Regions from separate parts of the Homo sapiens genome. Here regions 2, 3 and 4 are each linked to region 1. The links are contacts of gene promoters, found by promoter capture Hi-C in blood cells and fetal thymus (Javierre and others, 2016). All regions are on one chromosome and are shown on one strand. The core of a region is centred on a gene start or on the middle of the fragment in contact, and the rest is flanking DNA. Distances in the headings are between cores, read along the strand shown. Region 1 holds the start of CRADD-AS1 (CRADD antisense RNA 1). Region 2 overlaps MRPL42 (mitochondrial ribosomal protein L42). Region 3 overlaps MRPL42 (mitochondrial ribosomal protein L42). Region 4 overlaps LOC124902985 (a long non-coding RNA gene).

Evidence for each region. The method cuts DNA at HindIII sites, captures the fragments that hold promoters and counts their contacts. A CHiCAGO score of 5 or more calls a contact.
Region 2: a contact is called between a fragment that was not itself captured here and the fragment with the promoter of CRADD-AS1 in region 1, in 1 of 17 cell types (megakaryocytes). The highest score is 5.5, in megakaryocytes.
Region 3: a fragment that was not itself captured here is called in contact with the fragment with the promoter of CRADD-AS1 in region 1 in 2 of 17 cell types (megakaryocytes and erythroblasts); the score reaches 8.1 in megakaryocytes.
Region 4: a contact is called between a fragment that was not itself captured here and the fragment with the promoter of CRADD-AS1 in region 1, in 1 of 17 cell types (megakaryocytes). The highest score is 5.9, in megakaryocytes.

The regions. Positions count from the first base shown.
Region 1 is chr12:93,734,139-93,741,150 of GRCh38, reverse strand. It overlaps CRADD-AS1 (CRADD antisense RNA 1), which reads left to right and starts at 3,328. Exons shown (of 3, transcript NR_110092.1): 1 at 3,328-3,452; 2 at 5,418-5,586. The region is part of intron 2 of CRADD (CARD and death domain containing adaptor protein); the gene reads right to left. The HindIII fragment of the contact is 4,271 bases long and covers 1-3,901 here.
Region 2 is chr12:93,489,773-93,496,784 of GRCh38, reverse strand. The region is part of intron 5 of MRPL42 (mitochondrial ribosomal protein L42); the gene reads right to left. Among named protein-coding and RNA genes, the nearest start is that of MRPL42, 26 kb to the right of the region's middle. The HindIII fragment of the contact is 3,980 bases long and covers 1,274-5,253 here.
Region 3 is chr12:93,508,255-93,515,266 of GRCh38, reverse strand. It overlaps MRPL42 (mitochondrial ribosomal protein L42), which reads right to left. Exons shown (of 6, transcript NM_014050.4): 6 at 1-7,012. It also overlaps the pseudogene RN7SL737P. Among named protein-coding and RNA genes, the nearest start is that of MRPL42, 44 kb to the right of the region's middle. The HindIII fragment of the contact is 1,356 bases long and covers 3,478-4,833 here.
Region 4 is chr12:93,530,181-93,537,192 of GRCh38, reverse strand. It overlaps LOC124902985 (a long non-coding RNA gene), which reads left to right. Exons shown (of 2, transcript XR_007063408.1): 1 at 1-376; 2 at 478-4,020. Among named protein-coding and RNA genes, the nearest start is that of SOCS2-AS1, 38 kb to the left of the region's middle. The HindIII fragment of the contact is 3,396 bases long and covers 2,477-5,872 here.

The DNA of each region.
Region 1 (7,012 bases), core at 2,079-4,578:
CCCTAAATATTTCTGTTCTAATGACACACAAGAGATACACAAAATCTATCATTCCTCCCTGATGTACGAAAAAATAAAGGGCAATTTCATAACACCTTTGGTGCTTTCTAACTTAATAGCTGGCCTTCAGGAAAAGCAAGTATAATTTTTGAGTGTTTATAAGAAAGCAAAGGAAAATGTTGCAAAAAATTACTTGGCTCAAAGGCCACAGAGAAAGCCGGAATCTGCAGGACTCACCAAGCTACACAGCTGTTTTAAAACCGAAAGTCAAACAGCTTTTAAAAGGTATTAAGTATTTTCTACAACAAAATCATCAAATATACATACTTCTTTTTATCCTGCAAATAGACATTTTATTTCTATTAGAAAAAAACTATAGTTACACAAACAATAACTAGACTGCTGTAATAAATATAACTAGCCACATAATACTAGTCAACGCTGGCTTTTTAAAAGATTACCAGAGAATTTCAAAATGATTCTGAATGATCAAGTGTGACTCGTATATTTTTTAGGTAGGCATTGATGTTAAGAATATGGCTTTCACAGAAATAGAATCCAATTTATCTTATTTCCATATATTAATCATGGCAACAAATAAAAATGATGACAAAAATCACTAAGATAGTTTCTTTAAATTTTTTTAAATTAAAAACCAAAACCTTAGGTAAATCTGACAATCCTCCCCCAAAATTGGTTTTCGAAAAAAAGTCTTCAGGTCATAGAAAAAATGTAGATGGCTTATAACCCTTAGAATTCCTTTTAGTTAATGAGAATCTCATTTTTGGAATTTCTTCAAACTTAACTGAAATGTTAATGAAAAAGAGAAATATTTAGATGTTGAGAAAAAAAGTTGTTCTAATTATTCTGCTTCACTATCTCATTTCAGCTCATCAAAGTTAAATAGCTAATAAACAACTGGTCTGTTTTGGCAGATTTTTTTTCTATTTTAAAATTCATTACTAAACAGATGAGGTTACTGCTAGTTAAAATTCTGAATCCAAATGCCATACATGCTGTTGTAAAAACTGTGCAGTTTTAAATATATTTTTACTTCTATATATTTTTGAATCTTTAGCCAAACTCCTCCAATAAAGTTTTAGTTTATGATGTTTTCTAAAATAAAAACATTTGTATTTTATGCTATAAAAATCAATAAATGTCTTCTAAAGTTAGGTGCTCCAAAATAAATGATTCAAAAGTTTTAATGAAAGCCCTCTTATAATTAAAGAAGGTGATTGGTAATGAGGAGGAAAATGGGAGGCATATTTACAATAAATCAAAAGCAGAATTGTGATTAATGGGCTCCACAATGATTATTAATGTTCTCCCTATAAAATATTGATGTTTGCATTAATTTAAAAGTACAGACTGGGTTTTTTGCTTTGTTAAATGAAAAATAATTTTTTTCCTATTTTAAAATGAGAATGACTATTTTAAAAACAGAAGACTATGTCCAAGATCTTTCCCTTTCCCCATTTCAAAATTATGAGTTTTCTTTTTGTCTTTCTGAATTCTTGAAATCCAGTGACATTGTCATAGCTCTGAGAACCAAAATAATAGAAACCACTAACTGTAGGAGACAGCCTTGATGCTTTTGATTATATTTTCCTAGAAAGATTTTTATGATATTTAATCTTAATAGCTTTTTTTTTTTAGGAACTCCTCTAATGCCAATAAATGAGAATCTAAATCTCAGGAGTTTAGGCAAATTTAGCCCATCAGCATAGCCTAAAAACAGGATAATTTAATAAAACCTAAATAATACATTAGTTTTTAAATAATATGTTATATACTTTAGATATATATATATATATCCTGTTAAGATTAGTGGGTACCAACCTCATATCTGTATTGGAAATAAGCAGGGTGCAGATTTTTAAAAGGAAAAGAGGCTACACTACTACTCAAAGTCTCCTCAACATTTGGATGCAGGAGAGAAATGGAAAGAAAGTCGAGTTCATCAGGGCTGGTGCCCATCCCATGGCACTACACTTCCTCCTATCCCCTGACCACTGCCAAGTTTGGTCAGGATAGGTGGCTTCGTGTCTCTACATAGTCAGATACCTGTGTATTTTGCTGGGAGAAGGGGAAAAAAAATAAACAAATAAAAATAAAACTCTCTATTCCCAAACTCCCTGCATCCTTTCAAAGTCACATTTTATTAATGGAAATTAAAATGATGAAGAAAGAAACCATTAGTAACCTAAATGATAAGTTTCCCCTTAAAGACACATTTTAACACCAACAAGAGGACTTTCTTCTTTCACTTTCTTCCTTCCTTCCTTTCCTCGTTTCTCTCTCTCCCTCTCTTTCCTTCTTTCTTTCTCCTTCCCTCTCTCTCTTCTCTTTTTCTTTCTAGTCAGAGTTTGTGACTTACTAATTATTTTTATTCTGTTTGAATAGGGTCCCTGTTATCTTTTGTGATTTTCTGAAATGAAGTTAAGATTTCCATTATTTATGAGAATAAAACAGGAGGTTGACACTTTACGCACAAAAAAGAATAACCAAAGGTTACAATGACATCAGTTTTAGTTTTTATTAAGGGCTGGCGTGTGGTGCAGGGGGTGGCGGTGGGAGCGGGGTGAGGCAGGTGTGAGGAATGAGTTTGTTTCTTCCAAGAGAAGGATTTGCTTTGGTCAGTGTTGCTGCAGTCCCAGTGAAGGGGCCTACTCTGCCAGCTCTTCTGGGTAGACTTCATAACAGAGTGGGCAGGCTCAATTCTCTAGGAAGCCTGATGATGGCAACTGCATCTCATGGAAGAATTCCACAAAGGGTTAAATTAGGGTGAGATTGTCAACAGGCTTCAAAAAGGCAGAGTTCCAGGGCCCATGCCTGAGGTCTCATGGGCCTCCTTCAGGTCCTCATCCCCACAGTCTGACACTTTTGGCCCTTCTCTTCTCCAGCTCCCCACCCCATTCTTCGGCCAGTCCTTCCTTTTTCCTCTAACCCTGCAAAAAATGAGCAGCGCTGTTGTTTTGTTCCAACTGACAAAACAGCTAAGAAACAGCAGAACATGACTGCCCTTTGCAAAATGGGCCATGTGATCCTCCTAGCTCAATTCAACACTTACAGTAAAAACGAATAGAAAGGGACCTGTTTATGAAACTCTCCTGCTTGCCTTTGGAATACTCTCATCCTCTCCCTTCTCAGCCTCCTAAATACCCAAGTGAATTTATATAATGAGCTTTATTTTATCACCCTGAAATTCTTCCTCAGTCCAAATTGCTAATGTGGCAGGTTCCAGCTGCCCAAATTCCCTAAACAACATTGCCTGTTCCATAAAAAGCATGCAATTACAAGCACAGCAGTCCTGCTCTGGTTCTTAGAACTATAAACTGACTACACAGCTCCCTGGCCCGGGAAGGCTATGAAACAGGCAACATGGACAATTTAAAGGTGTACAACATCCGAGGTTCCATTTCACCCTCAGGCAGCACGGAGTGGACAAGGTAAGGCCACCCTCCACTTTTCTTCTGGCTACTATATTGATTCTCTGGAAACTCTCTCTGCTCCAAAAGAAACCACCCAATCCCATGGAGAAAAGGTGACACTGAATTTGCACTGCTTTTTATGGTTGCATTTGTTTGACTAAGAGGGAGCAGAGTTCCATACAACAGACTGCTTTAGTTGGGTGACTTGAAAATAACACATACCAGATTAGTTCTCCAGATGCAGATTAGTACTAAGTTTGAATCCTTTCTTTTAAATTAATTAATGTAATCTCAATGTTTACATAATAGACATTGACTTTTATCTGGCACATACAGTATATGACTCTGCCTTTAGCAAAAATACCATTCAAGCTATCTTTAGCAGATGTGAATGTTTTATTTTTATTTTGGGGACTCCAAAGAGAGTCCATAACCTACCTTGGCATTGTCAGATCTCAAAAAAAGCTTTCTTCATACTTGCAATATAGTAATATCTAAGTACTTGGACATCTCTGCACAAAATATATGGGTCCACATCTCCCTGTTTTTCCATATACTATTCCCTCTGCAACCTTGTTCACATAGCAAACTCTAATTTATTCTTCAATAGGCAGCCTATGCCACCTTCCCTCAACTATCCCAGACCAGTAGTCATCACTGCCTCCTCTACCCCTTGTACATTTCTCTATGTGGTCTCACCAGAGAAGTACTATGTTTGCTCATATGTCTGGTCTCACCAGACAGTACCATGTTTGCTCAACTCAAAGTTCCTTGAGGAAATAATTGTATTTGTATCTCCAGTGCCTTGCATATTTTGTATCACATAATGAGTTCTATAAAAGAGAACTAAACTGATGTGGCTATGAAATGATTTACAGCTTTTAACTGGAATGAGCCTAGTACAAGACTCACTTAGATGCTGGTGGTTGATCCTAAGTTTCTCATGCTGTTATCTGCAATCATTTGCTCTTGCTCTACATTCAGAAGAGAAAGAAAAACTGGTGACACTAATCTGGCCTCTATATCATAATTAGACCAGGGGTAGGATCTGAGAAACTAGAAAATATTTAGCCTACCCCTAGTCACATCCTAAAAGACATCAATGTGGAACTCAAGGAACTCAGTGGATTTACCAACATTTATCATACCCTATATCCACCCATTATAACTACTTGAATTGTCATGGATGGGAACAGAAGATAGATTTTATTGTGGAGAACAGAATAAATCTAATAAAAGAAATAACTAGAGGAAAAGTTGGGGCTAGTTGACGTTTTTAAGTAGAGATGGGAAAAACATAAATGATGGTGGTCAGCACAGAAAGTTTTGAATATAAGGACTTTAGAAATCAATGTGGTCACTCTTTTCTAGTAATAGGCTGACCATGGACAAAAATAATAGGAACATTATTCCCTAGTTCCTTTGCAATGTACTGTACTGTTATTTAAGCATCCCAGCATCATGCTTGCTTTGATAAATACAAATCTAGCTCAATTGCCATGATTCTGCTTTGAGGCTCTCTCTTTTTTAATGATTTATATGTCATGCTCCCCAAAAGTCTTTCTAAAATTATACCAAAGGGAAAGAAGCAAAAAAAGGGGAGCTTAAATGTTCTGAGGAGCTGTTAGATGTGCCTGGTGCTTGCTATGCACTTCTTTTTGAGACAGAGTCTCCCTCTATTGCCCAGGCTGGAGTGCAGTGGCGTGATCTCAGCTCACTGCAACCTCCGCCTCCAGGGTTCAAGGGATCATCCCACCTCGGCCTCCTACTAGATGGAAATACAGGCCTGAGCCACCACAACCAGCTTGCTATGCACTTTATATACACCATCTATATGTATACCACCCTCCCAACAACTCCACTTGGTAGGAATAATTATTCTCATTTTAAATCAGTTTTAACCTAGGTGTCTCTGGTTCTAGATCTAGTATTTTTTCTACAAATAATACGGTTCCAATTTCTTTCTTTTCTTTCTTTTTGTAGAGATGGGGTCTCACTTTGTCACCCAGGCTGGGCTCAAACTCTTGGCTTCAAGCGATCTTCTCGCCTTGGTCTCCCAAAGTGCTGGGATTACAGGCTTGAACTACTGTACTCGACTGACTTTTCCTATTTCTAATGTCAGCATGAAGAACACAAGAAGTCAGCTTCAAAGGTAAGAGGTGTATCATTCATTCATTCAACATTTATTCCACAGCTACGATGAACCAGGCACTATAGTCTCTTTGAGGATATAAACATAAATAAGTTCTGGGACTCGACTTCAGCTTGCTCACAGTCTAATGGAAAAGAGACATAAAAACAACTTGGTTTATTCTATTTTCCCTAGGCTCTGTATTTGGATCCCCACACCTTGTCACTTTTTGCTGCCACTTTACAAACTTTCCATATCTTAAGAGTTACTCTATCTTTATTTACACATTAGTAAAACACAAGAAACCTGCCCCATTTCGTAAGCTGCCTACACTGCTAAAATCACATCCTAGAGGGAAGTGAGATGGAACAAACCATAAGCATTTGAACTCGCTTGTGCCGCTCTGGGTTTCCATGCTGCCAGGGTGTTTGTTCATTCATTTATTTGCATATTTTGGAGGGCCTACAGGAGGCCCAGTGCTAGCCAGGGAAACAGCGGTGAAAATGACATAACTAGTGTTCTGCCCCCATGGAGCTTACCCTCTAACCTTTACAGGAAGGGGAGGCAGACAGTCAACAAAATCCTGGATTGTGATAGGTGAGTCATTAAGGAAAATCACAGGGTGCTATGAGAAAGCACATATGGTACAGGGACCTAACCTTGGCAGGGGGATGAGGAAGGCCTCCCCTAGGAAGTGGCATGAAAGCTGAGATCTGTGAGTTGAGTGGGATTAGCTTGGTGAAGATAGGGGGAAGACGGACAAGGAGGGAAACAGAGAAGAGGATTCCAAGCTGAGGGAACAGTGCATACAAAGGGCTGAAGCTGGAAAGAACACAATACCTCTGAGGTCAGGAAAGAAGGCTAGCATTTGCAGAAGACAGGCAATACGAGGGACGGGGTCCGGAGACAGAGCTGGGAAGGAAGCACTGGCCTGATGATGCAGTGGTGTTCTGGATTTCAAATCTCATTCTAAGAGCAGCGGGAACATATTGAAAGGTTAAAGCAGCTCAGTTGAGTGCACTTAATGTTCTTTAAAATTCCCTTGGCTACCTATGATTGAAGTATTGAGAAAAACACAGTGTGAAAACATGTTTCATTAATGAAAAACTTGTTTAGAATACAAAAGTGGTATAGATAAAAGAGTTCTAAATAAAAAATAATGGGTTTTATTCATAGCATTATTATCCCAAGTAAGTCATTTAATCTCAAAATATTTTTGTTTCCTCATCTAGCAAATGAAAATACTAAAAAATTCAAAATTCACATACTTGTTTTAAAAAGCAAATGAAATAATACATTTGAAAATGCTTTGAATCTCTAAAATGTAAGCTCCTTGAGGGAAGGGACTTTGACTATTTTACTACTATACCTAGGACCTAGAAGATGGATGGACGGATGGATGGATGGATGGACGGATGGATGGGATGGATGGACAGATGGATGGACT
Region 2 (7,012 bases), core at 2,014-4,513, 240 kb after region 1:
GTTGTATTTCTCTGGGATTGGTTGTGATGTCACCTTTGTCATTTCTGTATTACTTTTAACCTGGCTGTCTTTATTTTTAAAGTGGATTTCTTATAGGCAGCATATAGTTGGAGCTTGCCTTTTTTTTTTTTTTTTTTTTTTACCTAATCTGACCTCAGTGCCCCATCTCATTTCAACATCAAGCTATTTCAAATGCTTTATCCCTCAGTTTTCAGCACTTTTACTCTTCCTCTGCTATTTGCTCTTATCTTACTTTCTTCATGACATTTTACTTTTTTATATTCACTTTGAATATCTACTGTCCCTCTTAGCACAACTGCATATAATTATAGTTTATTAGGTATCTATTAATGTTATATTTACATTTTTAGGTGACTTTTTTTGGTTAAATCTTCTCTGGAGTATTTTCTCTTTGTTAAGGATGTTGTCTGGGCGTGGTGGCTCATGCTTGTAATCTTAGCACTTTGGGAGCCCGAGGTGGGTGGATCGCTTGAGGTCAGGAGTTCAAGACCAGCCTGGCCAACATGGCGAAACCCTGCCTTTACTAAAAATACAAAAATTAGCCGGGTGTTGTGGTAACTGCCTGTAATCCCAGGTACTCGGGAGGCTGAGGCAGGAGAATTGCTTGAACTCAGGAGGTGGTGGCTGCAGTTAGCTGAGATTGTGCAACTGCGCTCCAGCCTAGGTGACAAAGCAAGACTCCGTGTCAAACAAAAACAAAAACAAAAAACCCAAACATCTGTTGTGTAATTTTCCACAATAATTCTAACACAGTATCCTTAATACAATGTATGGGTATTAAATGATTGTCTGATGGAATACTATCTCACCTAATTGTCTTCACAGCTTCTTTAAGGTGTTCAGTTCCTCTTTGAAACCATACTTTATGGAAGTTTTGAGGATGCACTGGTAAATTTCCCAGTGATTCTTGGAAGTTTTATTTCCAGAGTTCAGCTACCAGGTTACATGGGTTTATCCATTTTATCTAGGTGGGTCACAGGTGGGTTAAGATGTTCCTCATTATCAGATTCTTAATCAAGGTCAGCAGATCCTTAATGATCCAGAAGTGTTGCCCCACTTCATTCAGTCTTGAAGCTACCTGAGTCTAATTATTGGCCTCACCCAAGGTGGGTGAACTGGGAGTGTAAGTTGTATGACTCTAAAGAATCAATGCTGAATAGGCCAGTGGCTAATAAGTATCGTTGATTAGATTATCTCATGTCTGAAAATCTGAAGTGTTTACTATTAAATGTGTGGGCCAGGATTACAAGCTTGTAATCCCAGCACTTTGGGAGGCCAAGGTGGACAGATTGCTTGAGCCCAGCAGTTGGAGACCAGCATGGGCAACATGGCAAACCCTATCTCTCCAAAAAATACAAACAACAACAAAAAAATCAGCCAGGTATGGTAGTATGCTTCTGTAGTCCCAGCTACTTAGGAGGCTGAGTCTTTAGTCTTCCTTAGTTGACATGAAAAAAAATCAAGTCATAAAGTATTCCTTCTAATATAATCTTCCTAGAACACATCATTTGAGCAATATTATTATTGTAGGACTTTTTTCTTAGGTCAGCTAAAGACACACAACCACAAAAAATTAGGCTCACAGACAATTTGAAGGGTGAGGAAGGACAGGGTTTATTGGGTGAAAAGGAAAAAACTCAGCAAAGCAAGAGAGGTTCCTGTTAACAGGCCCACATCTCACAGATTGAATCCCCAGGTTACCACACCAGATCACAGAGGCCAGGCTCCTTTTCCCTGCAAACAGCGTGAACTTCACGAAGCTCCACCCCATTTTCCCAGTGCACAAGCTGGTCGGAGTTTCTCTGGGGACCCCTGTATCACTATATCTCTAGAGTTCCTGATGGTGTGTCTGTTACTTTTCTCATTAATTCGACCTTAGTAACGGTTGAAATTCTTTTTACATATCTAAAGTTAATATACTATCTTGATTTATCTTGGTGCTTCCCTTTCATCTCCCTTGTCTCTAGATTTTGGAGTGCCCCAAGAATCAGTCCTTGGACTGCTCCACTTTTCTGTTCCATTCTCTAGGACAGGAATCTCGTCCAGTCCCATGGCATTAAATACCATCTGTGTGATGATGACTTCCAAATCCATCTGTGGTCAAGACCTGTCCCTTGACCTCTAGACTTACATATCCAACTGCCTACTTGACATGTGTAGTAGGTATCCTTAACTTGGTATGTGTCTAACTGTGCTTCTGATGGTCCTCCACAAACCAGCTTCTCCTGCAGCCTGCTCTCTCAGTTAATGCCAGTTCTATTCTTCTAGGTGCTTGGGCCAAAAACCTTGGTACCACTCTTGACTCCTCTCTCTGTCTCATACCCAACATCTGGTCTATTAGCGAATCTTGTTAGCTCTATCTCCAAAATGTATCTAGATTTGACCATTTGTCACCATTCCCTCTGCCGCTATCCTAGTCCAAATCATCATTCTTGCCTGTTTTGTTGAAATAACTTCCTAACTGGTCTCCCAGCTGCTTCCTTTGCTTTGCTGCAGTCTGTTTGTAGCGTAGCAGCCAGAGTAACCTACTGTTAACACTTCCCTTGGTTCTTGTAATTTTTCTGTTGAAAATCCTCAAACAGCTTCCTATCTCACTCAGAAACACTCTAGGCCTACAACTACCTACATGATTTGGTCCTGCATTACCTCTCTGCTCTCATGCCCTACTGTCTTTTCCTTGTTCATGTATTCTGGCTACATGGCCTCTTTTTTGCTTTTGAACATGTCCTTCCTTCCATCTCAGGGCTTTTATACTTGCTGTTTGTCTGCATAGAACACTCTTTCTCACAGTATCAGTAAAGCTAGCTCTCTTACTTCCTTCAGGTTTTTACTCAATGAAGGCTTCCCTGACCAGCTTATTCATCTTATTTTCCTATCTCCTGTATTGGAATGTAAGATCCATGAAAGTCGGGATTTTTATCTTGTTTTGTGTACTACAGAATCATTAGGATCTACACATAGTAGGTGCTCACACATTTTAAAATGGATAAATGATTCTGATTCTCATAATAACTTTTTTTTTTTTTTTTTTTTTTTTTGAGACAGGGTCTTGCCCTGTCACCCAAACTGGAATGCAGTGACCTGATCTCGGCTCACTACAACCTTCGCCTCCCAGGTTCAAGAGATTCTCCTGCCTCAGCCTCCTGAGTAGCTGGGACTACAGATGCATACCACCATGCCTGGCTACTTTTTAAATTTTTTGTAGAGATGTGGTTTCACCATGTTGCCCAGGCTGGTCTCGAACTCCTGGGCTCAACTGATCTGCCCACCTTGGCCTACCAGAGTGCTGGAATTACAGGGATGAGCCACTGTGCCCAGCCCCCACGATTTTTAAAAATTAGCTGGGCATGGTGGTGCATGCCTGTAGTCCTACCTACTCAGAAGACTGAGATGGGAGGATCACTTGAGCCCAGGAGCTTGAGGGTGCAGTGAGCTATGATTGTGTCATTACACTCCATCCTGGGTGTTAGAGCAAGACCGTGACTCTAAGAAAGAAAGGAGGAGAGAAAAAGAGAGGGGGTCGGGGGAGGGAGGCAGGCAGGCAGGCAGGCAGGAGAAAATAATTCTAAATTTCTGAAATATAGGGCAATCTTACAAATGCATGAATAATAGTACCACTTTATTTAAGAAACTACTTTAATATTTTCCCATGGAGACAACAAAAATTAGCTACTTCCATCAGTAGGAAACAGATTTGATTACCTAGCTTAGTATGAACCAGGAGGTAAAGTTTTCTGGGTTAAGAGCTGTAGACCAGTGTTCCAGATGTCACTGAGTCATTGTGTAATCTAAGAAGTGTAACAATATAACTTGGTTTGCCAGGAGCAATCTCAATTTAACTCTTGTATTAATTAATAGTGTCTGCAAGGTTCCCAATCTGGATGATAGAATAAGGTCATCGTAAAATTAAGGTGCTTGCTTTTGGCTAGTGATTGTAGTGCACATTAAAATTCATGCATGATAAGATATGTGTAAATGCTATTTGACATTTATTGAGCATATTTTAGAACTTGACTTTGTTCAGTTTAGGGCTATCAGAGTCTCAAACATTTTCAGTCTTGAGTAGTAAATATAATTGAACAGTGTATGCTGAATGACACTTTTAATGGACAGTTCTTAGCATTCTGAAGGTCTCATACTTCATTGAGAGTCTGATAAAAGTTTTGAATCCACTGCCCAGAAAAACACCTATTCAAAATTTTTACAAATAATTTCAAGAGGTTAATGACTTCCCAAACCCCTTCTAGAACCAGAATCTGTAAGGAACTTAAATCAACAAGCAAAAATAAGTAATTCCATTAAAAAGTGGGCTAGGGAACATGAACAGACACTTCTCAAAAGAAGACATACAAGCAGCCAACAAACATATGAAAAAATGCTCAACATCACTAATCATCAGAGAAATGCAAATTTAAAAAAATCACAGTGTGATACCAGCTGATACTAGTTAGAATGGCTATTATTAAAAATAGATAAAAATAATAAATGTTGGCAAGGCTGCAAAGAAAAGCAAATGCTTACATACTATTGGTGGGAATGTAAATTAGTTCAGCCACTGTGGAAAGCAATTTGGAGATTTCTCAAAGAACTAAAAACAGAACTCCCATTCGACCCACCAATCCCATTACTAGGTAAATACCCAAAGGAATAGAAACTGTTCCACCAAAAAGACACATGTAATTGTATGTTCACTGTAGCACTACTCACAACAGCAAAGACATGGAATCAATCCAGGTGCCTGTCAATGGTGAACTGGATAAAGAAAATGTGGTACACATACACCATGGAATACTATACAGACATAAAAAAAGAACAAAATCATGTCCTTTGCAGCAGCACAGATGCAGCTGGAAGCCATTATCCTAAGCGAATTAACACAGAAACAGAAAACCAAATACCACACGTTCTCACGTGTAAGTGGGAGCCAAACACTGGGTACACACGGACACAAAGATGGAAACAAAAAACACTGGGGACAACAGACAGGAGGGAAAGAGGTGAGAGAAAGCTGAAGAACTACCTATTGGGCACTACCTCACTGCCTGGGTGATGGGTTCAATCATACTCCAAACCTCAGCATCACACAATATACCCTTGTGTACCCTCTGAAGCTAAAAATTGAAATAAAACAACAAAAAAAAAATCCTTATCTTAGGGTCTCCTAGGAAACCACATCTAAGACAGCATCTATTAAAATACATACATACATATATACATAGTGAAAGGCAAGCTTAGATAAAAAAATTTACAAAGCATATAGCTCATATAGCACTTTGGTCTCTAAGTTTTATACCTTAATAAGACAACCAATTTGCTTTTTAAAAAATAGGCAAAATATTTCTACAGATACTTAACTGAAAACAAACAAAAACCAAAACCCAAACATATGAATGGCCAATAAGCACATGAAAAGATGTTCAACATCTAGGTAGGTTAACCTCTACCTCTATGAATAGTCCTACCTCATATTATACCCAATTCCCTATGGAGAACACAGAAATAGAGAACACTTCTATTTTATATTTTAAATACTTCTGCATAGTTTAAAAATACTTTTTAAAAATGTGTGTTTTGGCCAGGCATGGTGGCTCACACCTGTAATCCCAGCACTTTGGGAGCCCAAGGCAGTGGGATCACTTGAAGTCTGGAGTTTGAGACCAGCCTGGCCAACATGGTGAAACCCCGTCTCTACTAAAAATACAAAAAACAGCCAGGCATGGTGATGTGCACCTGTAGTCCCAGTTACTTGGGAGGCTGAGGCACTAGAATCGCTTGAATCCGGGAGGCGGAGGTTGCAGTGAGCCGAGATGGCACCACTGCACTCCAGCCTGGGCGACACAGCAAGACTCTGTCTCAGAAAAATAAAAAATAAAAATAAAAATAAAATGTGTTTTATACCTTTTAATAAAAACTTATTTAAGAAGAAGTTATATACCCCCAGTTATTAAATTCATAATGAGTCCCATTCTTTTGACTGCTGTAACTTAAGAACTGTGAAATATTTAGTAAATCATCCTTCTATATATTAAATGAGGTTTAAAATGAAATGGTCTGACTAGGGAAAACAAGCTGAGAATGAATGAATGAATCAATGGATGAATGGACAGATGGACAGATAGACAGACAAAAAGAAAGAAATGGCCACTGACATCCAGAAACCAACACTTGAAAATGACTCACATTAATCCAAAATACATATGTAGATATCAAATAAATATGTGTTGAATGATAAGTGATGACACATAGGCATATTTAAAATTCAGCAAGATGATACATCTACAAGGACAAGGCCTACAGATAAAATTTCTCTTTATACACATAAACTAGTCTCTGGGGTTTCTCTGCCAAGCTCTTTATTAGGATATATATTGGGATAATCTAATTAAAGTCACTTTACAATTAAAAAACGCCTAGTAATTTTGATGGGAAAAAATATCAGGAGATTAAATTAACTAGCAGTCAAAAGCTGATTAGCAGTAAGATTAAGTAAATAAGATTAAACATAGGGTACTAGACACAAATGTCTAAAGACAACATGCTCGGTTTTAAGACTCCTAGTCTCCCTGTCTTCAGTCTTGTCTCCGTCAAGTTACATACCTTTAGAGTGATTTGGTTATGAATGCTTAAAACAGATTGTAGCAATATGGAACATGCAGGAAAGAAACAGGTACTGAAAGCCATTACAGAAGAAGTTGAAACAAGGTTTGAACTCAAATACCTGGATAATGTGATATAAATCAAAAATAAACCTGAGATGTTAAGAATCATAAAAAGAAATCTCAGAATATAATGAGATTTAATGATTTAAGGCACAGGGCTATGAGATGGTTTCCTAATTTGTTTGCACATATCCTAACCTTACAATTAAAAATATAGAGAAAAATCCAGATAGCATGCATAAACAAAGTGGGTATTAAATAAGAAGGAAGGCCGGGAGCAGTGGCTCACGCCTGTAATCCCAGCACTTTGGGAGGCCAAGTGGGGCAGATCA
Region 3 (7,012 bases), core at 2,906-5,405, 230 kb after region 1:
ATGACTCCATCAGTCACTTAACGGTGTGCCCAGGAGTCCATCGTGCTTCCGTTCCAGCCCATCCTCCATGGTCTCCCTGTAGCCAGAGTGAAGGCTCTGAATGCATCATCCCCTGCCAAAAATCTTCTTTGGTTACATTACCAGCTGTTACTAACATTTAAATGGTAAAATTAAAAATCAGTGAGGTTAGCAATGAAAATAAACTTTTTTCTTTTCTCCCGAAAAGGAATCAAGAAGGGTGGAGAGTGTATCTGCAGAAGGAATCAGCTGAGTTTGGAGACTATTTTGATATCCTGATTCCCTCTTAAGAAATGATGACTCAATGCAAATCAAGAGGATGACATGACTGCTAAAAAATGTAATGCATTATTGGCACCATTCGTAAAAGTATACTGTCCACAGTAAAAAAAAATATGTTGTCCTGGGTAATACATTTTAAGAAATATATCATTAAAAGCATGTGTCTAAAGGAGGACAATCAGGATAAGGGAGAGTTCTGGAAACATGTCATATGGATAATAAGAAAAAATAAAGCTTAAAGAAAAATAAGAAGGAATATGACAAATATTTTCAAATAGGAGTAAATTTATTTCATATAGATTCAGGGGGAGAATCAAGTCTGAGGATTATAAACCATAAGCAGACTGATTTCCACTCAATATAAGGAAACACTTTCCATTAAAACTGTCCAATAATGGCCAGGTGCAGTGGCTCATGCCTGTAATGTCAGCACTTTGGGAGGCCAAGGCAGCCAGATCACCTGAGGTCGGGAGTTCAAGACCAGCCTGGTCAACATGGTGAAACCCTGTCTCTACCAAAAAAAAAAATTAGCCAGGTGTGGTGGTGGGTGCCTGTAATCCCAGCTACTCAGGAGGCTGAGGCACAAGAATCGCTTGAGCTTGGGAGGTGGAGGTTGCAATGAACCGAGATTGACAGAGGAGACGCCATCTCAAAAAAAAAAAAAAAAAAAAGAAAGAAAGAAAGAAAAAGCAGAGGGAGAAAACTGTCCAATCATTATTGGAGTTAGGTCCATGGAAACGTAGTGAACTCCTAGTTACTAAAAGAATTCAAGAGAAAGCTGAATAATATTCCAGAAAGTACACTATAAAACAGGAGTTGGCTGGGCATGGTGGCTCACGCCTGTAATCCTAGCACTTTGGGAGGCCGAGGCAGGCAGATCATGAGGTCAGGAGTTCAAGACCAGCCTGACCAACATGGTGAAACCCCGTCTCTACTAAAAATACAAAAATTAGCCGGGTGTGGTGGTGGGCACCTGTAGTCCCAGCTACTCGGAAGGCTGAGGCAGGAGACTTGCTTGAACCTGGGAGACGGAGGTTGCAGTGAGCCAAGATCACACCACTGCACTCCAGCTGGGGTGACAGAGCAAGACTCGGTCTAAAAAAAAACAGGAGTCATTGAACTATCTGTGATGAAAGGATAGTTCTTTAATCCATTGTGGTCTAGTACTTTTATAAATTATAAAATGAAATTAGTAGAATGAAAAACATTTTTTAAAAGCCCCAATTTTTAATTATGTTAATGGATATAAAATTAAATTTCAATAAATAGAATTGGAACACACATAAAACGGAAAGAGAAAAAATTATTTAAAAACTTTCACTGAAAATGTGAATTTAAGATTAATATAATTTCTATAACTCAACTTTTTGTCATTCTTCAATTATAACTGAAGATTATAATTGAAGTAGTGATTCTGTTTATTAGACCATTAGATATACTTTGAATAAACACAATGCATATTAATATTCAAAAGTTTTTAGGTCAAGCAAGGTGGCTCACACCTGTCATCTCAACACTTGTGGGGGCCGAGATGGGAGGATCACTTGAGACCAGGAGTTTGATACCAACCTGGGTAACACAAGGAGACTTGGTCTCTACAAAAAATAAATTTGCCAGGCGTGATGGCAGACACCTGAAGCTCCAGCTGCAGGCTGAGGTGAGAGGATTGCTTGAGCCCAGAAGTTCAAGGTTACAGTGAGCTACGATTGCACCACTGCACTCCAGCCTGGGCAATAAAATGAATGAGACCCTCTCTCTCAAAAAAAAAAAAAAAAAAAAAAAATTCTAAATGTCACAAATGAGCTGGTTTCTTTCTCGTTAAAATATGTAATCCAGGGTAGATTGACAATACTACTACTTTCATGGATTGATGTATATCTAAACTGTTTCCATGGTTTTTAAAAAATATTATTCATAAGATGAAACCAGATTTACAAAGGGATAATGGTCGGAATGGGAAAAAAAAGTTTTTAAACTAATTTCAGCATACTCAGAATATTCACTTTTAACTTTTATCCAAAATGAAGCAAGTGGTGTGGTATTTTCAAAATTCATTTTTAATCCTTCATTAGTTGCCAGTTAGAACAATGTATCATATAAGCTTACAATTAAATTTAAATCCTCTTTTGATGACATAAATGGATTCCAGATCTATGAATTTGCCGTATGTAGACATTCTTTTGTTGGAAAATAAAACTTAAAGCATTCTATCAAATTCACAATAGTTTGATTACTTCTTACAGATGTGCAATATCAAGACAATCACCAACTTCAATGACAATTGTTAAATTATGGAACATGTAATAACAATCTGTAGCAACTCTGGTCTTTCAAGCTTCTACCTTTTGCTTTTGCTCTTTGATTTTATCTGCCATTAAAAAACAAGTTGCATTCCTGCCTTGTATGAAAGAATTCTGAAGCTATCAGAACTGTCTTCAGATAATTGAAGATAGTAACTTCAGGTAACTCTAGCTGGCCAATTTATATCTTTATTTCATTTTATTATTTTATTTTGAGGCAGAGTTTCACTCTTTTTATCCAGGCTGGTGTGCAGTGGCACAATCTTGGCTCACTGCAACCTCTGCTTCCTGGGTTCAAGCGATTCTCCTGCCTTAGCCTCCCGAGTAGCAAGGAATACAGGTGTGTGCCACCACGCCCAGCTAATTTTTGTATTTTTAGTAGAGATGGGGTTTCACCATGTTGGCCAGGCTGGTCTCGAACCTCTGACCTCAGGTGATCCGCCTGCCTCGGCCTCCCAAAGTGCTGGGATTACAGGCATGAGCCACCGCACCCAGCCCAATGTATATCTTTATAAAGCTGGGACCAAACTGGCTTCTTGCAGCAATAATTAAATGTTCAAATATGCTCAACAGAACTTTCCCTCTAGATAATCATCATATCTCTAAATGTAATCACAGTTGTTTGTTTTCCAAACTATTACATAAAGAGAACAATCTCAAACTTATTGCATTAGCCTTTACACAAGTTATGTTCTTTACTAAGTCACTGAACACACTGTACAGTTCAGTTGATATGCTTTTTCTACCAAGACTTTTTCAAATAAAAAGATATAGTAGGTTGATTTACATTCTAGGGCAAGCTCCTTAATTTAGGTAATTATTCCGGAATGTTCTCTTACCACTGCTGCTATCCATCCAATTGGATTCCTACAAAGCTTCAAACCACATTAATTAACAAAGTAATTTATTCCACACTTTACTGTTGTTTAGAGTTAGCTGTTTGTTGGCAATGAAGTGGAAAAAAGAGAATCTTCCTTCATATTACTATCATATTCAAATAGCATATAAACTAATTGCCATATTAGTAATATCTATATATTAATGGTACATCAAACCAATTGCAAGAAAAGGTAATTTATTAGCTTTCTTTGTTCTATGGGTTGATCTTCCTGGATATTTCAAATTGTTGTGTGTTGGTAACTGGTAATTGAAGTACTTTCTTTGCCACACAGTCTCCCAACATTTCTAAGAATCTTTGATGCTGATTATTATTAAGACAATTATTGTCTATATATAAGATTATTGTCTTAATTGCATTTTTTAGTTTTAGCAATCTAAAGTTGCTTAAAGATGTCTAAAAAGCATTAACGTTTATTTGTGAAATAATGAATATCTGTGCTTTCAGTTTTTTAATTACTTAGGTTTTTCTTTCAAAGAGATCTTCTGGTTTTGGATTTATCTCTTTATGTTCTGTATTTAAATGTTGATTTAGTTTTGATTATTTTATTGCTTCATTTGCCAGAACTTCTCAGCAAATAACATGTTATGGTTTTCCCATGTCTTCATTTATGGCTAAAAAACTGAACTCAGTATATGAAGAATTATATTTATGAGTAAAACTAGAACAATCTATTGGTTTTCATTTATTCAGAATCGCTTTTATTGTCACCATTAGGTTTACTAATACTGTTGCATTCAGAAAAGGTAAGTCTTTTCTTGATAAAAAAAGCCAGTGAAGTTATTTTGCCATCCATAACATGGTGTTAAAGATAAATGAAACAAATTACCCCAAACCTTCACATCGATTGCATTCCCTGCCTGAAACTTTCTCTCCTTTCTCTTTAAACAGATCTAATCTTAACACTGGTCCCCCATAAAAATATTTCCAGTGCATATATCTGACAAAAGATTTATCCAAAATATTTAAAGAAATATTATAACTTCAATCATAAGAAGAAAAAATAATGAGTAAATAGATGTTCCATATCACATATTATCAGGGAAATGCAAATTAAAATAAATGTGATGTGGATGAGCTGTCTGAGCAGAGAAAAACACAAAACAAGTGAGACACCACTACACACCTTTTAGAATGGCCAAAATTCAGAACACTAACACCAAGTGCTGACAGGGATGTTGAGCAATAGGAACCCTTATTCACTGCTGGTGGGAATGCAAAATGGTACAGCCTCTCTGTAGGACAGTTTGGTGGTTTTTTACAAAACGAAACATTCTCTTAGCATTCAATCCAACAATTGTGCTCTTTGGTATTTACCCAAAGGAGTTGAAAGCTTAAATGGACACAAAAACCTACACATGGATATCTATAGCAATTTTATTCATAATTGCCAAAACTTGGAAGCAATCAACCAAGATGTCCTTCAGCAGGTGAATGGATAAACTGTTGTACACCCAGACAATGGAGTATTACTCGATGCTAAAAAGAAATGAGCTATCAAACTGTGAAAAGACATAGAGGAAACAAATGCATATTATCCAGTGAAAGAAACCAATGTGAAAAGGCTATATATACTTTATGATTCCAACTATATGGCGTTCTGAAAAAGGAAAAACTTACGGAGACAGTGAAAAGACCAGTGGTAGCCGGGGGTCAGTGGGGAGGACACGACGAAGAGGCAGAGCCAAGGGTTTTTAGGACAGTGTAGACTCTGCATGACTATAAAGATGGATACATGTCATTGTACCTTTGTTCAAACCCATAGATTGTACAGCACCAAGAGTGAACCCTAATGGAAACAATAGGCTTTGGGTGATAATGATGTGTCAGTGTAGGTTTATCAATTGTAACCAATGTGCCACTCTGCTGGGGGATGGTGATGAGGGAGGCATGGGGGAGGGGAGCACTGAGGATATATAAGTTATTTCTGTACCCTCCTCTCAATTTTGCTCAGAACCTAAAACTACTTTTAAAAACTAAAGTTTTTTTTTTTTTTCAGGAGATGAGGATCTCACTATGTTGCCCAGGCTGCAGTGCAGTGGCTATTCACAGGTGTGATCCCACTACTGATCAGCACAGGAGTTTTGACCTGCTCCACTTCTGACGCTCCTTAGGCAACTCTGGGTCCCAGTGACCCAGGAGGTCACTACATTTATGCTGAACTTAGTGCAAACACCTGATTGACATAGCTCACTACAACCCAGAACTTCTGGACTCAAGTGATCCTCCTGTCTTAGCCTCCTGAGTAGCTAGGTCTACAGGCATGTGCCACTGTGCCTGGCAAAAAGTCTTTTTTAAGTGCTAAGAAAAAAAAAAGAGCAAATGATTTGAACAGATATTTCACCAAAGATATGAGTGCCCAACAAGTACCTGAATCAAAACTTAATGTTATTGATCATCAGAGAAATGCAAATTAAAACCATCAAATTATTACTATATATCCATTAGAATGGCTAAAACTAAAAATATTATCAAATGAGGGCAAGAATATAGCAATTGGAACTTTCATTCATGGTGGTGAGAATATAAAATGGTACAACCACTTTGCAAAAAGCGTTTTGGCAGTTTTTTTTTTTTTTTTGAGACGGAATCTCGTTTTATCACCCAGACTGGAGTGCAGTGGTGTGATCTTGGCCCACTGCAACCTCTGCCTCCTGGGTTCAAGGGATTCTCCTGCCTCAGCCTCCTGAGTAGCTAGGATTACAGATGCCTGCCACCACACCCAGCTAATTTTTGCATTTTTAGTAGAGACGGGGTTTCACCATGTTAGCTAGGCTGGTCTCAAACTCCTGACCTCAAGTGATCCGCCCACCTCCGCCTCCTAAAGTGCTGGGATTACAGGTGTGAACTACCACGCCCAGCCCCCCAGCTCATTCTTAGCTAACTAGTGTGTGTGAAAAAGAGACAGTGTTAAAATATATATGGTTTAAACTGATAAGGAAATGATCAGTTATTGAGCTTATCCATGATTGCTAATTCAGGTAGAGATGGCTTATAAGTAAGTGTTCGGGGCTGCTTACGGGAAGAAAAAATGAAAGTTAGGGATTTCCTTTGGATGCTGGGAAACAAAACTCCAACTGGGTTCTGACAAACATACCATGTGCATTGTCCTGTGGAGACATGACAATGTAAACCCATAAACAAATCGATTACGTTTTGGTGACAACTATTGTGAAGAGAATGGCCATAGTATTTGCTGCTTCTCCTTTTAATAGGTAGCATCTCTCCTCTTACTCCCTTGAATCTGAGATAGCCTTATGAAGTGATATTGTGCCAGTTCTGAGACTAGGCCTCAAGAAGCCTCGAAGCTTCCAATCTTGCACTTTTTTGTTTGTTTTGATACAGGTGCTTGTTCTGTTGCCCAGCCTAGAGTGCAGTGGCACAATCATGGCTCACTACAGCCTCAATCTCATGGGCTCAAGCAATCCTCCCATCTCAGCCTCCCAAATAGCTGGGACTACAGGCATGCAGCACCACCCCACCCTCCCCACCCCCAGCTAATTTTTTAAAATTT
Region 4 (7,012 bases), core at 2,925-5,424, 200 kb after region 1:
CCCAGATGGTGAGAATTAATGCTCAGACTGGTGACCCTGAATCTGTAGGTTTCTGAGTGATCCAGGATTCAATTATAATTATCATTTTTTTCATTCATTCAACATGTTTATTGAGTGCTGTTCTAGGTATCGGGGATAAAACATTGAATCAACCAGCCCTGTCTTCACAGAATTTACATCGTGCCACACTTCCTGTGTCTGCCCAACCAACAAATGACATTCATGTATCAGCTATTAATAGGACATCAGCTACAGACACACATACCAGCGTGTGTCACAAATAGTCTATGTCGGGGATCACATGCAAATCCCAGCAGCCAACAGGAACTCCAGGCATCCCAATCTCTTTCTCTCAAGAAAGCAAATCAGAATGCAAGTGAGTAAGAGTGACATTAGAGAGCTACATCTTAAACCCATTCTGATTTGTAAAGATAAAACAATCTTTCACAAACTTTGCTCTTTTGGTTTTTATTCTAGCCTCTAAAGTGGCAAAAAGATGCATTTAAGAAAGGTTTTCAACCGTGAAGACTGAAATCAAAGAGCAAACTGAGTCTCTGGTTAACATTTCTCAGGGCCTCTGCAAATACTGTGAGAAATGCCACTTTGTGACAGCTTCAGCCAAGCACCAGGCTCATCCTTCAAGAGATCCACTTAACACTGTGTTGCTCAGAGGAGTGGAAAGATGTCAAATTGCTCATCTGCTTGAAAAACCCAAATAGGTGGATTTCATACAGCAGGGATCCTGCCCTGGGAAGGCAACAGTCCTTTTTCTCATTTGATTGCTTTATAGAAATCTGTGCCCTTACCCCCCTTAGCCCCAACTCAAACCAGATTCTTTGCTTCCAGCAAGCCCAGCTGAAGTAAACATGTTAACAACACACATTTGCCTCCCTGAGACAGATAATATCATAGTTCAGCTCCATAAAAGCCTGTTGCTGTAGGCTTCTAAGGCCCTAGTTCTCAAACTTAGCCTGCATCCAAATCACCTGGAGTGCTTGTTAAAATGCAGATCACAGGACCCTACCTTGGAGTTTCTAACTCAGTAGGTCTTGGGTGGGTCCCGAAAATTTGCTTTTCTAGTAAATCCCAGGTGGTGGCTCCTGATGGTCTTTGAGAACTACTGCTCTAGGGCATTGCCTTGGATCCTGAAGGGCTGCATGAGCAATTCTGTCCTCAATGCAGAGAATGTCCCCAAACAAACCTTAATTCTCTTTGGCTTCTGACCACCCTATCTCATTTTCCTCAATTCTCATTCATTCCTCAACTCCCTTTAGCTGGCCTCCTGCCCTGCACTCTATTGAAAATGCTCTCAGTGAAGTTGAAGGTGACAAATTTGCTGCCAAATTTAATGGGCAGGGGACATCATCATTTGGGTATCTGATATGATTTGGGTCTGTGTCCCTGTCCAAATCTCATATCGAATTCTAATACTCAACATTGGAAGGGGGGCCTGATGGGAGGTGATTGAATCATGAGGGCAGATTTCCCCCTTGCTGTTCCCATGAGTAAGTTCTCACAAGGTCTGGTTGTTTATAAAAGTGTGTAGCAGTCGGGCGCAGTGACTCATGCCTGTAATGCCAGCATTTTGGGAGGCCGAGGCAGGTGGATCACCTGAGGTCAGGAGTTCGAGACCAGCCAGGCCAACATGGTGAAACGCCGTCTCTACTAAAAATACAAAAATTAGCTGGGTGTGTGCCTGTATTCCCAGCTACTTGGGAAGCTGAAGCAGGAGAATTGCTTGAACCAGGGTGTCGGAGCTTGCAGTGAGCCGAGATCGCGCCACTGCACTCCAGCCTGGCGATAGACTGAGACTCTGTCTCAAAAAAACAAACAAACAAACAAACAAAAACAAAAAAAAAGTGTGTAGCACCTCCCCTTTCTCTATCTCCTCCTCCTTCTCTGGCCATGAAAGACATGCCTGCTTCTCCTTCACCTTCCACCATGATTGTAAGCTTCCTGAGGCCTCCCCAGCCATGCTTCCTGTACATCCTGGGGACCATGAGTCAATTAAACCTCTTTTTCTTTATAAAGTACCCAGTCTCGGCTGGGTGCGGTGGCTCATGCCTGTCATCTCAGCACTTTGGGAGGCCGAGGTGGGTGGATCACCTGAGGTCAGGAGTTCAAGACCAGCCTGGTCAACATGGTGAGACCCTGTCTCTACTAAAAATACAAAAATTAGCTGGGCATGGTGGCGCACGCCTGTAGTCCCAGCTGCTCTGGAGGCTGAGACACAAGAATTGCTTGAACCCGAGTGGTGGAGGCTGCAGTGAGCCAAGATTGTGCCACTGCACTCCAGCCTCAGTGATAGAGTGAGACTCTGTCTCTAAATAAATAAATAACCCAGTCTCAGGTTGTTCTTTATGGCAGTGCGAGAACAGACTAATACAGTATCTCACCAGCCAGTTTAGCCACCAGTCTACATTGAACTCACTGTTTTCTCAAGCACTCTTCATCATGTTTTTGGGCCTGACAAGCTTCATGTGTTCCCAGCAGTATTTCTGTTATTTGCAGCAACTGCCACTCCCTACTAAGTGTAGTTCAGATGGGATTTTCAATCATAGCACCCTATGGCACTGGCCACAGGGATGGGCCTGTATCCCAGTACTGATCATCTACTCCCCTATCTCTTGGGTCACCATGATTGGCCCAGTGGCAATCAATGACACACACCAAACCAGTCAGAGCCCTTCTCTAAAATTTTATACGGATTTCATTACATCTAAGACTCCATTACAGTAAGAAACACTGTTATTTTATCCATCACTAAGAAATAATACTGCCAATTGGAACAACAAAAAAGGAAGATGACATCTATTAAAAGACGCTTCCGATTTCAGAAAGGTTAAAATTGGGTGGGGCTAAACCTTGCACAGTGAAATTCAAACTAAGATGCTGGGAGAAAAAAGCTCTCTCTCTGGAGTCCCTGAGCTAGGAAGACGTAAATGTCAAGTTGCAACAATACCACCTTCTCTCCATTGCCTGGAGGAAGCAAGTCTGCAATAGGAAAGAATGAGGCCAACACACCAAGAGAAGTGAAAATTTTAAAAAGAGAGAAATGAAGCGGGTAGAGTAGCTCTGTTTCTTCACATCAGTCCTATATCCTTAAATTATTTGAATTCAGTTTCTGTCACTTGCAATCATGGAAGTCCTGATAAATATAATCCCTTTCCCCATAAGCATCCCCAATATTCCCCAAAGTAAATGACTCATTACCCATCAAATTATCCAAATCATACTTAACTCCTTCCTCCTCCTCAACCCTTCTACACTGAACTAATGAGGAAATGTGTTTTCTTCAACTTCCTAAATATCTAATCCTTCCATTTCTCTCTATCTGCACTCAATCTCTCACCCCATCCACCATCCCCCTTTGCAGACCCCTGGGACGGCCTCCTAACTGAGTCTCCTGGTTCTAGTCTTCTCCTATCTAACTCTGGGTCCACGCTGCAGTCAGAGTGATCTTTCCAATAAGAACATCCCTGCCCAAAACACTTTGGGGTCTTCTCATTGTCCTTTCACAGTATGGCCCAGCCTATCTCCCCAGCTTTCTCCAGTTTTTCGAATATTTTTCTGCTTTAGACTTTTTTTTTTTGAGACTGGGTCTCACTCTGTCACCCAGGATGGAGTGCAGTGGTGCAATCACAGCTCAGTGCACTCCCCACCTCCCGGTCTTAAACAATCCTCCCACTTCAGCCTCCTGAGTGGCTGGAACAACAGGTGCGCCACCACACCCAGCTACTTTTTTTTATTTTTCCTAGAGACAGGTTTCACCATGTTGCTCAGGCTTTCTTTAGACTTTTACTTTTCCCTGACTGGAACGTTCCTCCTCGTTCACCTGTGATTTATTCATTTTTGATCCCAGCTTAAACATCACATCATCTAAGCCCAGGTGGACTCCTCTAGTTTCACTGACCTCTTTCACAGTTTCTATGGCATCTTCCTCATTATACTTTCAAAAATCAGCTGTTTACTGTAGCTTTTTATATTTGAAGACATAATAAACTCTTGTTTACACCCAAATCTTTAGAATAATAAACCATATCAGTGAGATGTTAGTAAGAGACAAATAGTCCTTCTCTGGGGGTACTTGGTGGGCTAACTATCTGGACTAAAATGGTAACTATCTCCAGACTCACAGCCAGTCCCAGAGGATGTGCCTCTGCCTTGTGGAAGATGTGGCAGAGAGTGGGTTCTTAGTAACTGCACTAGTTCCCAAGGGCTGCTATAACAAAGTACCACAGATTGAGTGGCTTCAACAACAGAAAAATACTTTGTCATAGTCCCGGAGGCTAGAAGTCTGAGATCGAGTTGTTGGCAGCATTGATTTCTTCTGAGTTCTCTCTCCTTGGTTTGCAGATGGCTGCCTTCTCCCGTGTCCTCATCTCCCCTTCTTATAAGGACACCAGTCATGTTGCATCAGGGCCCACCCCAATGACCTCATTTAACCTTAATACCAATTTAAAGACCCTGATATGGCTCAGCTGTGTCCCCACCCAAATCTCATCTTGAATTGTAGCTCCCATAATTCCCACCTGTTGTGAGACAGGCCCCATGGGAGATACTTGAATCATGGGGGGAGTTTCCCCCATACTGTTCTCATGGTATTGAATAAGTCTCACGAGATCTGGTGGTTTTATAAGGGGGAACCCCTTTCACTTGGTTCTGATTCTGTCTTGTCTGCTGTGATGTAAGATGTGCCTTTCGCCTTCCTCCGTGATTGTGAGGCCTTCCCCAGCCATGTGGAACTGTGAGTCCATTAAACCTCTTTTTCTTTATAAATTACCCAGTCTTAGGTATGTCTTTATCAGCAGCATAAAAATGGACTAATACAGACCCCACCTCTAAATACAGTCACATTCTGAGGTACTGGGTGTTGAGTTAGGACTTCAAGATATGACTTTGAGAGCAGCAGGAGAACACAATTCAGCCCATTACAGTAATGAATGAATGAACCTGTGAAGATTTCACATGCCACCACTTGAAAGAGTCAGCTCTCAAGAGTCACCATCACCTCCGGGAGAAGATGGGGCCAGGCGGTCATAAACCCTCATCCACTGCAGTGGGTTAAATTGTGGCATAAAAAGACATAAAAAGATATGTCCATGCCCTAACACCTTTCACCTGAGAATATGACCTAACATCCTGGTTAGAGTGGGCCCTAAATCCAGTGGTAAGTATCACCATAAAAGAGACATGACCAGGCATAGTAGCTCACACCTGTAACCCCAGCACTTTGGGAGGCCAAGGCAGGAGGATTGCTTTAGCCCAGGAGTTCAAAATGAGCCTGGGTAACATAGTGAGACCCCCAATCTCTACTAAAAATTGAAAATTCAGCCAGGCGTTGTGGCACATGCCTGTGGTCCTAGCTACTTGGGGGGCTGAGGCAGGAGGATTGTCTGAGCCTTGGAAGTCAAGGCTACAGTAAGCCATGATAGGGCCACTGCACTCCAGCCTGGGCAACAGAGCACCCTGACTCAAAAAAAAAAAAGAAAAGAAAAGAAAAAAAAAAAACTTGAAGAGAAGGGAGAAGACACATGGAGAAGGGGCTGTGCAGATGGAGGTAGAGATCAGAGGGATGCGCCTATGAGCTAAGGAACGCCAAGGATGGCGGCAGCCTCCAGAAGACAGGAGCCAGACGTGGAACGGACTCTCCCTGCACCCTGCAGAGGAAGCCAGTCCTGCCGACGCCTTGAGTTTGGACTTTTGGCCTCAGAACTGTGAGACAATAAATTTCCGGGGTTTTGGGCCACCGGTTTGTGGTAATTTGTTACAGCAGTCACAGAAACCTAGCACCTCTACTTCCATTAAAGGGAAGGGAGACCGTGTTCAGGAGATCTGACCTAGGATAGAGAAAGCGAGACACTTCAAAGCTTCATCAGGACAGGTCTGGTTGCTTGAAAAATAGTCCAGTTACCAGCCTAGCCAATCTGAAGATAGTTAGCGTTTTGGCACAGATCAGGGGCCCCCAACCCCCCGGCTGTGGACCAGTACCCGTCCATGGCCTGCTAGAAACCAGACCACACAGCAGGAATTGAGCGGCCGGTGAGCGATCATTACCACCTGAGCATGGCTTCCTATCAGATCAGTGGCGCCACTACATTCTCACGGGAGCACGAACCCTATTGTGAACTGAACATGTGAGGGATCTAGGTTGCCCGCTCCTTATGAAAATCTAATGTGTGATGATCTGAGGTGAAACAATTTCATCCCCAAACCATCCCCAACCCCAGTCTGTGGAAAAATGATCTTCCATGATATAGGTCCCTGGTGCCAAAAAGGTTGGGGACCGCTGGCACAGATACTTAGCCCACTAAATATCCCCAAAATAGAACTCTCTCTTATACCAGGCCTGTTTATTTAGTACCTTGAGGTTGCAGGCATTCTCTCTCTGGCAGATTAAGGACAGAATTTCCTTGTATAATAATAATTTCTTAAATGTTTACTTTCACTGAAGGGTTTCTTTCCCAGAAAGTTTGAAATTAATTTGCTTCGTAATTTCTGGCAACAAATACCGATAGCAAATTTCTTTCCTGGCTTTTGTAATCCCAATGACATCACGGAACCTCCGTCACTGTGGGAAATCGTTCTTCTAGGTAGCTGTGATGATATCACTTGCTATGAAGGAAAGGAAAAAAAAAAAGAAACAACAGGAAATTCTGCATTCAGCTGTTAACTGATAAATGAAGGAGGAAATGGTTTTGAAAGTAAGTTCCCATAACTAAGCAGCCTTCTCCATTACTTAGCTTTATTTATTTAATGTATTTATTTGCACAATCTCACTGGTAGTACAAGTCCCTAGTCAAAAAGGCTTTTCACTCCCAGCAAATTAGGGAACATAGGCCAGAGCCCCTCACTTTGGGGGACCCCTGTTCACACAGAGGATCTAAAAAAAGATCTGGGCAAAGAACAAAAAGAAAGAGAGGGAAAGGAGGAGGAAGAGGAAAGGAGGAAAGGGAAGGGGGAAGGGAATAAGATGAAATGAAATACAGATACCAATAAACATTTGACCTAG